2 separate regions of the Homo sapiens genome follow, and region 2 is linked to region 1. The links are contacts of gene promoters, found by promoter capture Hi-C in blood cells and fetal thymus (Javierre and others, 2016). All regions are on one chromosome and are shown on one strand. Each heading gives the region's core, a stretch centred on a gene start or on the middle of the fragment in contact. The rest is flanking DNA. Distances are from core to core; before and after follow the strand shown. Region 1 holds the start of LOC101928236 (a long non-coding RNA gene). Region 2 holds the start of SIAH2-AS1 (SIAH2 and CLRN1 antisense RNA 1).

Region 1 (3,028 bases), core at 286-2,785:
CACGGCCGCGCAAGGGTAAAACGCTAGCGGGTAAGTTAGATCCGGCCGCCGGATGCAGTGGCTGGCGGAGGGATCCTCTCTACTGCAACCACGCGAAGCCGATTGCGCCGCGCATGCGCCGGGAGACTCGGATTTGCCAGTTTTCCGGCTTTTGAGCCGCTCTTCCGGCGAGTCCCTGGGCTTCCGAGAAATGACGAAGTGGGCGGGGTCCTCCTTCTCGACCGTTGTGAAATCAATTCGCCTCCCCCGGAACCTGCTGCCGGGTCTTGCACATGTTCCGTGGCAGAGCTGACCGCGATCGTTCCTGGCTTGGATGCCTTGAGGCTTGGCGCCGGCGGCCGGACCTGCAGGGGTTGCGGGGGACTCAGGCCACTTGTCTGACGGGGCGTAGGCAGCAGACTACCACTGAGCTCCGGGAAAAGGGAAAGGGGAAACTGATCAGCCCCCTCCAGTCACTTACCCCACAGTTAAGCCCTCCAGAAAACCCACCTCCCTGCTTGACCTCTGATGGCCGTTTCAGGGCTTGTGACGATTATGATATCGCCAGAGTCCTTCCGTGAAAATTGGAAATGCCATAATAATACTTAAATTCACTTACCCCAAAACAAGCAGTGTGTTACGAGGTTTATCCAGAAGATGAAGAGCAGAGCAAAAAGCAAATGATAGCCGTGGCTTTCACGTTTAAAAACAGTTCTTAGGCAGCGCCGGGTCGCGGTCCTGTAGTCCTAGCTACATCGGAGGGTGAGGCGGGAGGACTGCTGAAGCCCGGGAGTTCGAGGCCAGCCTGGGCAACATAGTGAGACCTTGTCTCTAAAAAGAAATAAGAAATGTTCCTGAAAGTTTTCATGACAGGGTAGAGTCCAAGCTTTTCCAGCATATGACTTATCTACTGCTACCTTTCTCCCTGAACTCCGTCAGCCCAGGGAAGAATCCAGGTTGGGATTTATGTTTACAGATCCAAAACTAAGCACAAGAGATCTTTAAATCCCATGACAAAACAGTGCCTGAAAGAGCTGACCACCAGATCCAGCTTTTGAGTTTGAAGCTGAGATCGTCCTGCATACAGCAGGATTGAGTGAATGAATATAAATAAATTATAGGTATAAAAACATGGTCCACAGCCACACCACCCTGAACTTGCCCTGTCTTCTCTGATCTTGGAAGCTAAGCAGGGTCTGACCTGCTTAGCTAGTCCTTGAATGCGAGACCACCTTGAAACACTGGGTGCCGCAGGCTTTTGAAAAATAAAATATATATATACGTTTGATCATTCCCTAATTTTGTAATTCTGAAAATTAAGTATACACTAGATATTTTTATATCTAAAGGCAAGACAGTAATCCAGCCAACATTTTACACTGATCCCTCTTTCCCACCTTAAGAAATAATTCAGGTGGGGTTTTTTTTTGTGTTTTTTGTATTTTTTTGAGGCAGCGTTTTGCTCTTGTCACCCAGGCTGGAGTGCAATGGGCGCGATCTTGGCTCACTGCAACCTGCGCCTTCTGGGTTCAAGTGAGTCTCCTGCCTCAGCCTCCTGAAGTAGCTGGGATTAGAGGCATGCGGCACCACACCTGGCTAACACCGCAAACGGGGTTTCACCATGTTGGTCACGCTGGTCTCCAACTCCTGACCTCAGGTGATCCAGCCACCTCGGCCTCCCAAAGCGCTGGGATTACAGGCGTGAGCCACCGCGTCTGGCCAGTTCAGGTGTTTTTTAAGAGATGAGGTCTCCTTATGTTGCCCAGGCTGGACTTGAACTCCTGGGATCAAGTTATCCTCTCGCCTTAGTCTCCTGAGTACCTGGTACTACAGCTGTGCCCAATCACACCTGCCTTAACTGTGTTGTTTTTGAGAGTCCAGTGATAGTATATGAAAATGCTGTGAAAACTATAAAAATCAGGTATCAAATATAAGTCGACTCTCAAGACTAGGATGTAGATACCTCTGAACGTTTCCTGATTGCTGAAAATAAAAGTCTTGTTCTGTGCTATTTTTAAGATGGGGCTGATAAGCAATATCCAGTTATGTGCTGTATGCATGTGCCTGCGTGTGTATGTGCATGTGTGTGTGACAGTGACACTATAAAGAAACAGTTCCCTGAGGCAAAACTAGACTAGGTCTCCAGTGACTTCAATGTTACAATGCACATAGTTTAAATCGAAATTCCCTCTAAAGCACCTTGTGGTAGATCTGGAGAAAGCTTGTTCTTTTAGTACTAAGGTATCATTGTTTTCACTGTGGTAACAAATGCTATACTTGTTCCAGAGAACCAACATTACAGTAGAGCCCTTGTGTGTGGTCATGGAAAGAACACTGGACTGGGCATCAGAAAAACCACCGTTCTAATTTCACTCTGCTACTGGATCTAAAATCTTGGTCGAGTCCTTTCACATCTCTGAACTTCCATTTCTTCACATGTAATGGTCTTTGTTCCTCTCCTGTATGCTCCTGTAGCATTCTACCCTTTCATGTAGCATTCCATGTACTCTATTTGTTCATCACTTTGGTCTTAGTGCCTAGCATAACATAGTTTAGTGAATACTCAGTAGAGATTTGTTAGAGTCATTCTAACTGTACAAAATTTCATTATGGGCCATTTTTCTTTGATACTGATATTTGTTAGAATGCTATTTACTGTGGAAGAATAATCCCATGGATTACTTATTAATTGCAAGGGTGTTAAGGTACTTTTACAATGGAGAAATCTGATGGATACCACCTTAACAAATGATAAAAAGTAGCCAATAATTGAACAAAAAATTGGGCATCGTGTGCCCCTAGATGTGAAGCATGGAGATACAACATTACCTATGGAGTATTCCTTGAAAAATCTTTAACCTGAATCTAATCATGAGGAAATAATCAGACACATCCAAATTTAGGAACATGCTTCAAAGTAGTTGGCCTGGAATTGTGAAAAATATCACAAGACACACACACACACACACACACACACACACACACACACACAAACTGCTATAGAATTTAAACAGACATGACAGCTATACGCAGGGAACTTGATGTGGTG
Region 2 (3,028 bases), core at 346-2,845, 6.4 Mb after region 1:
CGGTCCCACCCACCGTCCACGCTCCCGCCCCGCCTGAAGTTGCCTTTCTCGTTTGAGCTGAGGGACGCGTCAGCCAGGCACCCCGGGGTGTGGCCAGAGGACTTCGGCGACGCTTCCCCGAGAGTAGCCCCCCTCCTCAACCCAGAAAAGACAACCCCGCGGGGCTGCAGCGAGCCAGGCATGCTCACTGGCGCAGGCCCGGCCCGCAGCCCGAGCAGGAAGCGCCGGCGCTAGGCGGCCCCCTGCGCTGCCAGCTGGAGCCGGGCGGAGCCAGCGCCCCGGCGCAGGGTGGCTCTGCCAGTCCCCGCGCGCCTGGGCGGCCGCACACGTGTCCAGGCGTCACGTCCGCGCGCGCCCCCGGGGCTTGCGTCAGCGGCTGTTCCAGAAGCGGGTGGGCCAGGGCTCTGCGCACCGCTGGGGTTCGGGGCCCGGGACGCCGCCGGGAGGAGGGCACCGCGCGGGGTCCGACGCGGAGGCGTGCTCGGAACGCCGGGGGCTGCGGAGTGCATCAGCGCGGTCCAGCCCTCCGCCTGCCGGGCGCCGAGCGTCTCCGCCGCCCGGACCTGGGCTGGGCGCCGTGGCGTTGCCTCGGAGCTCGCTGCCCGCGGGGCGCGCACCGCCTTGACCCGGGCGGCCCCGCGGCAGGCAGGCGCCCGCAGTTCCATGGTTGGTTCGGAGCGCGATGAGCCGCCCGTCCTCCACCGGCCCCAGCGCTAATAAACCCTGCAGCAAGCAGCCGCCGCCGCAGCCCCAGCACACTCCGTCCCCGGCTGCGCCCCCGGCCGCCGCCACCATCTCGGCTGCGGGCCCCGGCTCGTCCGCGGTGCCCGCCGCGGCGGCGGTGATCTCGGGCCCCGGCGGCGGCGGCGGGGCCGGCCCGGTGTCCCCGCAGCACCACGAGCTGACCTCGCTCTTCGAGTGTCCGGTCTGCTTTGACTATGTCCTGCCTCCTATTCTGCAGTGCCAGGCCGGGCACCTGGTGTGTAACCAATGCCGCCAGAAGTTGAGCTGCTGCCCGACGTGCAGGGGCGCCCTGACGCCCAGCATCAGGAACCTGGCTATGGAGAAGGTGGCCTCGGCAGTCCTGTTTCCCTGTAAGGTAAGCCCAGGGACAGCCCACGTACCTCCGCCGGTGACCTCAGGGACTCCGGTATCCGCCAGCCCACTCGCAGGCCCGGAGAGGCGGGCGGCATCTCTCATTTAAAAAAAAAAAAGAAAAAATGTTTACACTTCGTCCACCCTCCCTCAAGCCCACTTTGGGTGTAGGTCTGGGTTGACATTTACCGAGTAATAATTGTTAATAGACAATTAACAGATTAATTGGCATTTGCTGATCGTTAGAACATCGTAGCTCACCCGGCCCAATGCCCGCGTCCTCTGCAGACGTGTATTCGGGTACTCTCGGTAGGGCTGGGCCGCACCAGTAAAACTTGGACCGAGAAACTGACTGTGTGGGGATTGAGGAGGGAGGAAACGGGCGAGCTAAACGCCCCCTTTACCAGCGCTGGGCTCGGCTGAATTGATAATTGGAGTCCTGCACCCCGCGCCTACCGTCTGCGCACCCCTGACACGTGGGAGCTCTCGGGATTGTAGCTAAAAAAAGGGCGCCTACAGCCTGTTTTCCTCTAGCTAGAAGAAAACCCTGCAAGCCACGCCTTTTTCTCTCCTAGCCTTCCAAAGACTGGGAAGGACTGAGGAGTTGTGGCTGCGTTGTTGTACTAAGTGGGGTGAAAACAGTCAATCAAGAAATTAACAAGGGCACTCAAGAGCTGTTGTTACAGTTGTTTAAAGCTCATCACTTCATTTTTTATTTAATGTAAAAAGTTTTCAATGCCCTTGCGAAAAATGCAAGCCACCAAGACAAGAAGTAAAATGAAAGACCAAGATCTCTCCCCTCCTTTCCCACCATTGTTAGGTTTAGTGTGTATCTTTTTAAACTATATATACATACACCCTCGCAGCTAAATATAGAATCATAGATGTCAGTGTATGTCAGGGAGGTTTTTTAATACCCACACATAGATGTAAGTTTTTCTCCAAAAATGGCATCTGCAACTTGCTGTTCTTAAATTCATATTATCACACATATTTCTCTATGCCTGAAACCTAGTCGACTTCATTGTATTTTAAATGGCTGCATAGTATTGCATTGTGTGGTCATATTATAACATTTGTTTACCTGCAGCTATTACGTGGAAACCTTCAGGAGCAGTTTCACAGACATACTTGTCTACGTTATAACCTAGAAGTATACTGTAAAGTCATTTTCTGAAATTAGAAGTGGAGATAATGTCACTAATACTTTCCAGTTTTTTTGTAAAAGTAACTTGCGCTGCCTCTTGGGCCATTTAAGCTGTCTTGCATTTCTCCTTGGTGCTGCTTATTTTATAGGACAAGAGCTCATTTTTAAATTAAAAATAATCCACCAGAGAATTCAGGCTTGGGACTCAGGTCAGTAAAATGAGTGCTTTAATTTGGTCTGCTGCCCTGCTGCAAATCAGGTTTAAAATAGCATATTTAAATAAGAGTTTGAATCGGTGTTTGGACTAGGGTGTTTCAGGCAACCTTAATAAATTGCTGTTAACCCCTCCTCATATAGTGCTTACTAATTCACTCAGCCCAGTTTCTCAAAATTTAGATAAAGTATTTGCATAGTTGTCTTAGGGTTGTGAAAAAGGTGACAACCTAGTGGTTGGAAAAGGTTTGGTGGTAGTTAACATAGAGTGGCTATTTGATGCTTGAGATATATTGCAGGGGTGGGGGATGCCCCATAGGATTTCTGGGGAGCCATTTTCTCACCCCTTTACTTTCCCTTAAACGCGCAGCGGCTAACAAAAGAAATGGCTTTTAGGTGAGTTTTAGTTCACAAATGAGCATTTGATATTAGTCAGTAATCCATAATTTGTTTTTAAAATGTAACCATAATAGAATTGTGTTGTTCCCAAGAGAAAGGGAAGGAAACAGTTATGCTATATGGAGCATGAAGTTTCACTTTCAGGATCTAGAACTCTGGTTCCTATGAAAGCAT

The links. The method cuts DNA at HindIII sites, captures the fragments that hold promoters and counts their contacts. A CHiCAGO score of 5 or more calls a contact.
Region 2: a contact is called between the fragment with the promoter of SIAH2-AS1 here and a fragment that was not itself captured in region 1, in 1 of 17 cell types (activated CD4 T cells). The highest score is 5.5, in activated CD4 T cells.

The regions. Positions count from the first base shown.
Region 1 is chr3:157,172,126-157,175,153 of GRCh38, reverse strand. LOC101928236 (a long non-coding RNA gene) reads right to left here and starts at 1,454. Exons shown (of 10, transcript XR_007096141.1): 1 at 599-1,454; 2 at 1-405. It also overlaps the pseudogene RNA5SP146. RefSeq lists enhancers at 1-319, 1-805. The HindIII fragment of the contact is 1,335 bases long and covers 868-2,202 here.
Region 2 is chr3:150,760,504-150,763,531 of GRCh38, reverse strand. It overlaps SIAH2-AS1 (SIAH2 and CLRN1 antisense RNA 1), which reads right to left and starts at 1,595. Exons shown (of 3, transcript NR_187306.1): 1 at 1,552-1,595; 2 at 1,125-1,193. SIAH2 (siah E3 ubiquitin protein ligase 2) reads left to right here and starts at 363. Exons shown (of 2, transcript NM_005067.7): 1 at 363-1,099. The coding sequence starts at 683. RefSeq lists a silencer at 1-837 and enhancers at 1-892, 2,709-2,808. The HindIII fragment of the contact is 3,527 bases long and covers 1-3,028 here.